Linked DNA regions of Homo sapiens: region 1 is linked to region 2. The links are contacts of gene promoters, found by promoter capture Hi-C in human tissues and cell types (Jung and others, 2019). All regions are on one chromosome and are shown on one strand. Each heading gives the region's core, a stretch centred on a gene start or on the middle of the fragment in contact. The rest is flanking DNA. Distances are from core to core; before and after follow the strand shown. Region 1 overlaps LOC105372926 (a long non-coding RNA gene). Region 2 holds the start of TGFB2 (transforming growth factor beta 2).

The links. Contacts are between HindIII fragments. The study calls those that stand out against the background at their distance.
Region 1: a fragment that was not itself captured here is called in contact with the fragment with the promoter of TGFB2 in region 2 in 1 of the 25 tissues and cell types used here (thymus).

What each region holds. Positions count from the first base shown.
Region 1 is chr1:219,794,049-219,799,048 of GRCh38, forward strand. LOC105372926 (a long non-coding RNA gene) reads right to left here. Exons shown (of 6, transcript XR_001738473.2): 3 at 3,204-3,250; 4 at 1-1,529. Among named protein-coding and RNA genes, the nearest start is that of SLC30A10, 130 kb to the right of the region's middle. RefSeq lists an enhancer at 292-441. The HindIII fragment of the contact is 6,787 bases long and covers 1-5,000 here.
Region 2 is chr1:218,342,900-218,347,417 of GRCh38, forward strand. TGFB2 (transforming growth factor beta 2) reads left to right here and starts at 2,437. Exons shown (of 7, transcript NM_003238.6): 1 at 2,437-4,148. The coding sequence starts at 3,803. It overlaps TGFB2-AS1 (TGFB2 antisense RNA 1), which reads right to left and starts at 2,779. Exons shown (of 3, transcript NR_046268.1): 1 at 2,704-2,779; 2 at 2,276-2,489; 3 at 1,297-1,563. RefSeq lists a silencer at 2,365-2,424 and enhancers at 2,805-2,854, 3,986-4,486. The HindIII fragment of the contact is 13,667 bases long and covers 1-4,518 here.

The DNA of each region.
Region 1 (5,000 bases), core at 459-2,958, 1.5 Mb after region 2:
CAGATTCCCCTATCTTACCTTCCTCTGACGTGAAATCTTCCAGGTGTAGGTTAAGGAGCCCTAATCCCACATTGCCTATGGATTAACCCAGGAAAGAAGACATCATAACCCTAAATGAAGTACATTAATTTTTTTAATCTGTTGCAGCCTTTAATCAATTTCATTCACTTGCCTTGCCCTAACCTAACTTCCTCTCCTGGGATGTGTCAGCAAGGCTCATTACTAAGAAACGCCAGCGTCACCCACACCACGATCTTGTGACTTCAGCACCTCCGATTCCATGAGCAAACCTCAGCTGTTCCAAAGTGAAAGAGTATTTCACCTCTCCCAAGAGGCTGGGTCCAAATCATGCTACCGACTTCAAAGAGGAGGAGAGATGTGAGGGAAGAAGGAAGATCCCCTCATTGAGGCAGAGGAGCAACCTCAGGTCCTCTGACACCCAGAGGAGGTGCACAGCTACATTTACTCTGGTATCTCCAGACCACAGGTGCAGCACGGCTCACATGTGCAATGAATTCAGCATGTGATTTGGGTAGAGTGTGGGAGTGGATGCTCACACGTGCAGCCACTGAAGCCTGGGCTGTGCTCAGTGAGGCGAGAAGAGGGGAACTGAGGTCTATCAAGATCCATTAATTCATATGATCATTGTCCTAGCTGGTCAGGCTGGATTGAATTCACAGCAGGGTGGCCTCATGGCCCAGGGTAGGGACCACAAAAAGTTTTAATTGCTGATAAAACAAATAGAACAAAACTTTAAAATACAATTTTCTGCTCCCTCAACCCCCGGCCCCACCCCATGTCTTTAACCTGTGATCGAAAGGATATTAAGATCTTGGGTGTATCAACAGTCCAGAGGACAAGAAGGAAAATCCTGGGATGTGAAATATTCTGCAACAAGGAAAGCAACTGGAGAGGCGACTAAATTCACTGCAGCTGTTCTGCCCTCCTCTTTTTTTCTCTCGCTCCCTCTGTCTCTTTCCTGGAAGTCCCCTAGTAAGAAGTAAAAGAGATAATGGCTTTGGAGTGCATGTTTTTCCTGGAATTGGAAGGAATTTTAACAAAGGAGCCCTTCAGAATGAACCCCCCACCCCTGCTTTTCACCTGAAGTAGGACAAGATTGGTGCCCCCAACATCATTCTCCATGTGGCCCCAGGTTGGGTTGGGGGGTGAACACTACTGATAAGCTCTTAGCAATTTCCCTATTTGTGGACTCCGAAGCTCCTTAGCTTGACAACTGATGAATAAGTTTTCTTTTGTGGGATAAGAGTAGATGACCTTTTCCCCCTGAATTCCCATCCTGGGGCCGGGGAAGAGAGCCCAGGATCCCTTCTCTTGGCCTTCACACCGTGGGAAAGAGTACCTAGAGTTAAAAGCCTGATAAATGCCCTCGAACAGCTTTGAAAATCACTCAGCGTGAGCGCTTGCCTCCTGAACAAATGTCCAAGTTGTATCACTACGGGAATGGCTCTCGGGTCACAGACACAGAGGTGATTCTCTTTGTAAATAGATTCATGCCACTTGTCTCCTTTCTGAAAACAGTTTCAAAAGAATTATTTGGTGAAGTCAGTTTCCTAGGAGAATCCATCACACTTCCCCAGAGATATTTCCACCCTTACAAACCATTAGATAAACTTAAAGAACAAATTAGTCCTCGTGGTAGGCCACCCCCACCCTATCTCCAGTTCACCACTTCAATCATGCTAGTTTTTCAGTGGATTTGAAGCCAAGCTTTCACATCAGAGCCCTCCAACCAAGAGCCTGAGTGTATAACTCATAAGAACAATCAAGTAACAACGTTTTTCTTTCCATTCCTCACATCTGGTATCCGCTGCCTTGTGAATGGGGTGCCCCTCAGCAGGAAGGGTTAGAGCTAGGGTAAGTGTGTAGGGAGTAAGCCTTGAAAAGAAAGAGGTGGGGAAAGAGCAGCAAAATCAGGACTGTCCCAGGAAGTGACTGTCAGTCAAGGGTTCCGAAATCCCTCAAATAGCTACTTCTGCTGTCTTGGTTTTGTCCATCTCTCCTCTTTTTTTACATACCTGCCACCCTAAAAACTACGAGCTATGCCTAACGTAGCGCTAACCAGTTAAAGAACTGCTGGTAACTTTAGAAAAGAGTCCATTCCCCATCAGAATCAGAACAAAATCTTTTTTAAAAAAAATTATTTTTGGCCAGTCATTGTTGCTCACACCTGTAATCCTGGCACTTTGGGGGGCTGAGGTGGTCAGATCGCTTGAAGTCAGGAGTTCAAGACCAGCCTGACCAAAATGGTGAAACCCTGTCTCTACTAAAAAATCAGTTGGACATGGTGGCACATGTGTATAATCCCAGCTACTCAGGAGCCTGAGGCATAAGAATCACTTGAACTCAGGAGGCAGAAGGTGCAGTGAGCCAAGATTGTGCCACTACACACCAGCCTGGGTGACACAGCAAGACTCTGTCTCAAAAAATAATAATTATATATATATATATATATATTTAGGCCAGGGGCAGTGGCTTATGCCTGTAATTTTAACATTTTGGGAGGCAGAGGCTGGAGGATCACTTTACCTAGGAGTTTGAGACCAGCCTGGGCAACATAGTGAGATCTTGTCTCTACAAAAAAATTTTTAAATTAGTCAGGCGTGGTGGTGCATACCTATAGTCCCAGCTACTTAGGAGGCTGGGGCAAGAGAATCCTGCTGCTGCATTTTGTGCTACTGCACTCCAGCCTGGGCAACAGAGTGAGACCCTATCTCAAAAAAAAAAAAAAAAAAAAAAAAGAAATAAAAAGAAAAAGAAATACATATATATATTTTAAGATCCATTTTAGAGTTGCAACACAATTAGGAGGAAGGTACAGAAAGGTCCCATATAGCTCCTGCTCCCACACATGTATAGTCTCCTCCATTATCCACACCCCTGGACAGAATGGAATATTTGTTACAATTGATGAACCTACATAGACACATCATTGTCACTTGAGGTCCATAGTTTGCATTAGGGTTCATTCTGGGTGTTTTCTATTCTACAGGTTTGGACAAATGTATAATGACATGCATCCACCAATATAGTATGATTCAGAGAGTTTCCACTGAATAAAATCTATTTTTATTAAGTTGGCATACAATAAATGAATTAAGCATCATAACAGCACAGTGTAGTGGGGAAAGCTGAGACTCTGGAGTCAAGCAAGCCAGGATTCATGCTCTGCTTCTATTACTTACATTGTTGTGGTTAAGGCAGGTTACTCTCTGAGATTCTGTTTTCTCCTCTGTAACATTAGAATGATTATACTTACATGAGTCAATAAGAATAAAATGAGAAAAAATGAAATAACAAAAGTTAACACACTTGGTACAATGTCATAATAAATAGCAGCTAGCTACTCCCATCCTTGATGTATATCCAACCATAACTGCGATCCCATCATTAACAGGTTCTGACATTTTTGACTTGTCTTCATTATTTTCTTGTTTATAATAAGTGGCAAACAATGTCAATAGCCAGCTCAGTTACCCATAATAGTTGCAATATTTAAGCAACACCAAAATAATATGTCAAATTATAAAGACAAATATCTCACACAAAATGGGAGAAAGAATTACTGGAAAGAAATGAGAGGTAAATTCATAACTTCCACAGTGCATTATCTGAGAGAAGAAAGTTTTGCTGTGATTTAAATCTTAATAGGTAATTTAAATATAGATGTATAACATTATAAAAGTGCATTTCATTGAGTTATAGAATTTCAGCATTGTTAAGTCCAAATCGTTATCAGATACATGAATATCATTAAAAATGCTTTTTACTTTAATTTACTCATTAGAGCACTTTTTGAAAAGGCTATTTAGGAATCCCTGAGTAAGCAAAATGGTCACAACCCAAGAATAAGAGGTTAGAAGTGATAAAGGGAGGTTATCTTCAGAGAATCCTCTCCATTTATAGGTACTAAGCTCTGAATGGGTACATAACACTATAATAAACCTTCAAAAGAGATGCGTTGGAAGAAACATACAAATTTAAATCTAGTAGTTGCTCACTAATGGGCCAAGGCAATTGGAGAGAGATGCTGTAATAAGAGATAAAGTTCAATCAGCTCCTTTAGTCCAGAATTTTTCAAAGCGTAATCCACAGTCCAACTGTACCTAAATCCTCTAGGGACAGAGAGTGATGGTGGTAGACACTGAAAATGCAATGTCTTAAACTCCATCCTAGAACTCTGAACAGAATCTTTGAAGATGGTTGTGAAATTAGCATTTCTCAAAGTCATTTTTAATAAATTCTGAATGTGAAACCAGACTTGAAATGTGAAAGGAAGTGAAAAGACAAAGCTGGATACTCATCATTGAAAAAGAGGCAAAGTAGATAATGTGCTAATGGAAAGAAAGAGGAAAAGGAAAATTCAGTCATCTTCATGTGATGTGTCATAACGTATCATTAAGAAAGCACCCATATGACTCATTCCCAACTAAACTGCATCTGAGAGAGTCTCACTCAAAATATTACCCTACTCTTCTAAAATGATTCCCAAAGTTTAGCCAAATTTAAAATGGAAGGCTGGAGGCAGGGAATATTTATTTTCTCTAATATATTGCTTTCACACTCAATGTCATATTTCTCTTAAGACTTGAAGGTCTTTAGAGAAAGAAAAGCCTAGTGGAAAACCAATATTGTTTTGTATTAATGCATCTTTCTAGAAAACAAATTAACTCACATTCAGTCACATAAAGATAAATTCTTCAGGAAAGATTGTCAAGAAATAATAGTAGGCTGGGCATGGTGACTCATGCCTGTAATCCTAGCACTTTGGAAGGCCAAGGCGGGTGGATCACTTGAGGCCAGGAGTTCAAGACAAGCCTGGACAAATGGCAAAACCCTGTCTCTACTAAAAATACAAAAAAACAATTAGCCAGGCATGGTGGCTAACACCTCTAATCCCAGCCACTCAGGAGGCTGAGGCAGAAGAATTGCTTGAACCTGGAATGCGGAGGTTGCAATGAGCTGAGACCACACCACTGCAC
Region 2 (4,518 bases), core at 1,187-3,686:
TAAGAGCCATTTAATAGAAGAAATGATTCATTTACGGTTACCAGGGAGACAGCTCTAGCAATCTTGCCGGTTAGGTCTTCAAAGAACTGATCATTTGAGAGGTGGAAAGGGGCTCCTCCTCTCCTGCTATACTCACTTACTGCACTTACCCATTCCAGAAGCTTTTACCAATACCTCCCGTCTTACCCTCCTGGGCTTTGGGGAAATTAAAGTAGCCTCTTATGAGTAAGTCAGGGGTCTCAGGTCTAAGGAGTTGTTAAGTGAGCAATAGGTACTCAGTAAACTAAGTATTATGAACAAAAGTGTGTATGTCTATGTCAGGAAGAGGGGTGGCCATCAGAATTTATGGCTTGCGCTGTTTTCCTAGAAGTGATGTAAATGAACTTTTGCTACTCTATCCACACTCTAATCTGAATCTACTTAAGGTGCATCAGTGTCTGTACCAAGAAGGTTGTCTATAAACATGAAAGATGCTCACTGGCTTGTGGAAGCTGAACCTGTATCCTCAGCAAAATACAGTGATAGCTAATTCAGGTAACCAGCCATATTCCACAGCAGCATCTTCTCTCAGTAGCTCTGGTTTGGAGCTCCTGCTCTGTGTCTATAATGGCCACAGGTGTAAGAATATTCACTTTTTGTCCAATCTGTAGAGCTAGCCTACTGCAGTTCTCAAACTGAACTCAGAGGGAGGACCTAACTGGATGAAACTACTAGTCTGACAGTAGCGCCTCTTGATTATCTTTTTCTTGGGCTACTGGGATGGTAGCTTTGCTTCAACTCAAAACTGGTATCAAGGAAAGGAACCTGCTGGTGCTGATTTATACATAATTTTTAGAATTATTCAGAAGTGGGTTGGAACAATTATTTTATTCCAGAGTTTTTCAATGTGTGATAATGGAAAAAATTCTGTATTCAAGGGAGTTTGGAAAATGCTGGGTTAAAAGAGTGAAAAGGTTTTCTCTTCTACAGGAGTTTCAGAGCCTTTAACATGATAATGTTCCAGAATGAGGAATCTAAGAGGACAGGAGAGTACCCAGTATCTCCCAAACTTGTTTGACTCCAGAATTCCTGTTTGTCAGAACATATTCTGGGACCATTGTTTCTCAGAAGTACATAGTAGGTAAGAACATAGTGGATCCTGACTGCAAAAATCCAGCTCTACCACTTACTGTGGTCTCGAACAAAGTACTTAACTTCTTTGTACCTCAGTCTCCTCATCTGCCAGATATGGATAATAAGACCCACTTTATAGGTTCATAGTGAAGATTAAATGACCATACACAACACACATCAAATTACTAAGTGTAGTATATGTTAGCTATTATTATTTTATTTATTCAGTGCTCTACTAATAACCTAGGCCCCATACACAACTGAAGTATAAATTCCAAAAGTGATAGAAAGTTCTTTGTGACTTTTCTGAACTCAGGAACATCTGAAGTAGAGAACAGTATAGAGATCTTGGGTTTGGGAGTACATTCAACAGAGTTTCCAGTTTAAATCATCTGTCTGGTCAGTATGGCTGCAGAGTCATGCCGAAATGAAAATGTTGACTTTGAGTAACTAAAGGTAAAATAAAAGAAAAAGGGAAGGTGGAACAGTGGTAAGAGTTATTCTTGTATTCATCTAATTTAGACTTAGTTGAAATTGAAAATGTCAAGTTATGAGTAGTGTAGAACAGTAGACATCAAACACTTAAAATTCCAGCTTCCTGGATTAATGCTATGGAAAGAATGAAGTTGGTTGATAATGTTTAGCCTAGCAAGAAGGTGAAGAAGAAAGCCATACAAGAAGTGGCTTAGGCAGCAAATTATAAAGGTGACCATTCATTCAAATCAGTAAAACAAACAAGTATACCTTATTCTTTAGGTAAAATTGATGGATCTCTGTTTTCCAGCAGTTCACAAACAGAGGGGTACATTGTAAACAACAAACTAACAAAATAAATTCTGGGATGGCAACCTGCTAAGGTATCCCAGAAAATAAGAGGTAGGACATGAATTTAAAAGATTGGAAGGTATGTCTTCAGTACTGGCCTGGCCCTGAGTAGACTAGTGCTCCCTCCCATAGGGGTGCGTGTGCACACATAATACAGGAGGGAAGCCTTCCCTTCTAGAGCAAGTGATTCAGCTTGGGAGGCTGTGACTGAGCTACACTAAGTAAAAACGGGAGACTTGATTGTCCTTCCTTCAACAGACCTGTCCAAAATGACTGGAAAGTAAATACCGTAAATCACTGTTGTCAGGGCGCACATTCCACCTCCTTCCTCCCTTACCCACAGCGGTCCTCATTTCCACACTCCCTCAACGGTTCGGGGAGAGCTCGTGGTCTAAGTAACGAGAGGACTTCTGACTGTAATCCTAGCACGTCACTTTGTTGAAGGCAGACACGTGGTTCAGAGAGAACTTATAAATCTCCCCTCCCCGGCAAGATCGTGATGTTATCTGCTGGCAGCAGAAGGTTCGCTCCGAGCGGAGCTCCAGAAGCTCCTGACAAGAGAAAGACAGATTGAGATAGAGATAGAAAGAGAAAGAGAGAAAGAGACAGCAGAGCGAGAGCGCAAGTGAAAGAGGCAGGGGAGGGGGATGGAGAATATTAGCCTGACGGTCTAGGGAGTCATCCAGGAACAAACTGAGGGGCTGCCCGGCTGCAGACAGGAGGAGACAGAGAGGATCTATTTTAGGGTGGCAAGTGCCTACCTACCCTAAGCGAGCAATTCCACGTTGGGGAGAAGCCAGCAGAGGTTGGGAAAGGGTGGGAGTCCAAGGGAGCCCCTGCGCAACCCCCTCAGGAATAAAACTCCCCAGCCAGGGTGTCGCAAGGGCTGCCGTTGTGATCCGCAGGGGGTGAACGCAACCGCGACGGCTGATCGTCTGTGGCTGGGTTGGCGTTTGGAGCAAGAGAAGGAGGAGCAGGAGAAGGAGGGAGCTGGAGGCTGGAAGCGTTTGCAAGCGGCGGCGGCAGCAACGTGGAGTAACCAAGCGGGTCAGCGCGCGCCCGCCAGGGTGTAGGCCACGGAGCGCAGCTCCCAGAGCAGGATCCGCGCCGCCTCAGCAGCCTCTGCGGCCCCTGCGGCACCCGACCGAGTACCGAGCGCCCTGCGAAGCGCACCCTCCTCCCCGCGGTGCGCTGGGCTCGCCCCCAGCGCGCGCACACGCACACACACACACACACACACACACGCACGCACACACGTGTGCGCTTCTCTGCTCCGGAGCTGCTGCTGCTCCTGCTCTCAGCGCCGCAGTGGAAGGCAGGACCGAACCGCTCCTTCTTTAAATATATAAATTTCAGCCCAGGTCAGCCTCGGCGGCCCCCCTCACCGCGCTCCCGGCGCCCCTCCCGTCAGTTCGCCAGCTGCCAGCCCCGGGACCTTTTCATCTCTTCCCTTTTGGCCGGAGGAGCCGAGTTCAGATCCGCCACTCCGCACCCGAGACTGACACACTGAACTCCACTTCCTCCTCTTAAATTTATTTCTACTTAATAGCCACTCGTCTCTTTTTTTCCCCATCTCATTGCTCCAAGAATTTTTTTCTTCTTACTCGCCAAAGTCAGGGTTCCCTCTGCCCGTCCCGTATTAATATTTCCACTTTTGGAACTACTGGCCTTTTCTTTTTAAAGGAATTCAAGCAGGATACGTTTTTCTGTTGGGCATTGACTAGATTGTTTGCAAAAGTTTCGCATCAAAAACAACAACAACAAAAAACCAAACAACTCTCCTTGATCTATACTTTGAGAATTGTTGATTTCTTTTTTTTATTCTGACTTTTAAAAACAACTTTTTTTTCCACTTTTTTAAAAAATGCACTACTGTGTGCTGAGCGCTTTTCTGATCCTGCATCTGGTCACGGTCGCGCTCAGCCTGTCTACCTGCAGCACACTCGATATGGACCAGTTCATGCGCAAGAGGATCGAGGCGATCCGCGGGCAGATCCTGAGCAAGCTGAAGCTCACCAGTCCCCCAGAAGACTATCCTGAGCCCGAGGAAGTCCCCCCGGAGGTGATTTCCATCTACAACAGCACCAGGGACTTGCTCCAGGAGAAGGCGAGCCGGAGGGCGGCCGCCTGCGAGCGCGAGAGGAGCGACGAAGAGTACTACGCCAAGGAGGTTTACAAAATAGACATGCCGCCCTTCTTCCCCTCCGAAAGTAAGTACTTATTTTGACTTCCATCCCCTGAGGTTTAGCTCTGCCCGGAGCTCTCAAAACCGCAGCAGCTCCCGGGATCGCCCTTCCCTCTCGCGGTTCCCGTTCGCTCTTTTCCCGTTCTCCTGTCCTTCACCCCACCACCTCCTTTTCAGTTGTATGCTTGAGGCCATCAGGCTTTAAAATGTTTACTTTCTACTTTATTTTCTCCATCTTTCCCTTCCCCCTAACAATTCGGTGCTTTAAAAGGCGTTATTCTCTTTTTCTCTTCCCTGAAGTTCTTTAGTCGGCCACCAGCTAGGAGTCAGCCCCACTCTGTCAAACTAGAGGTGCTCCCAGGGGCAGAGTTAAACTGAGGAATCTTGGTAGGTTT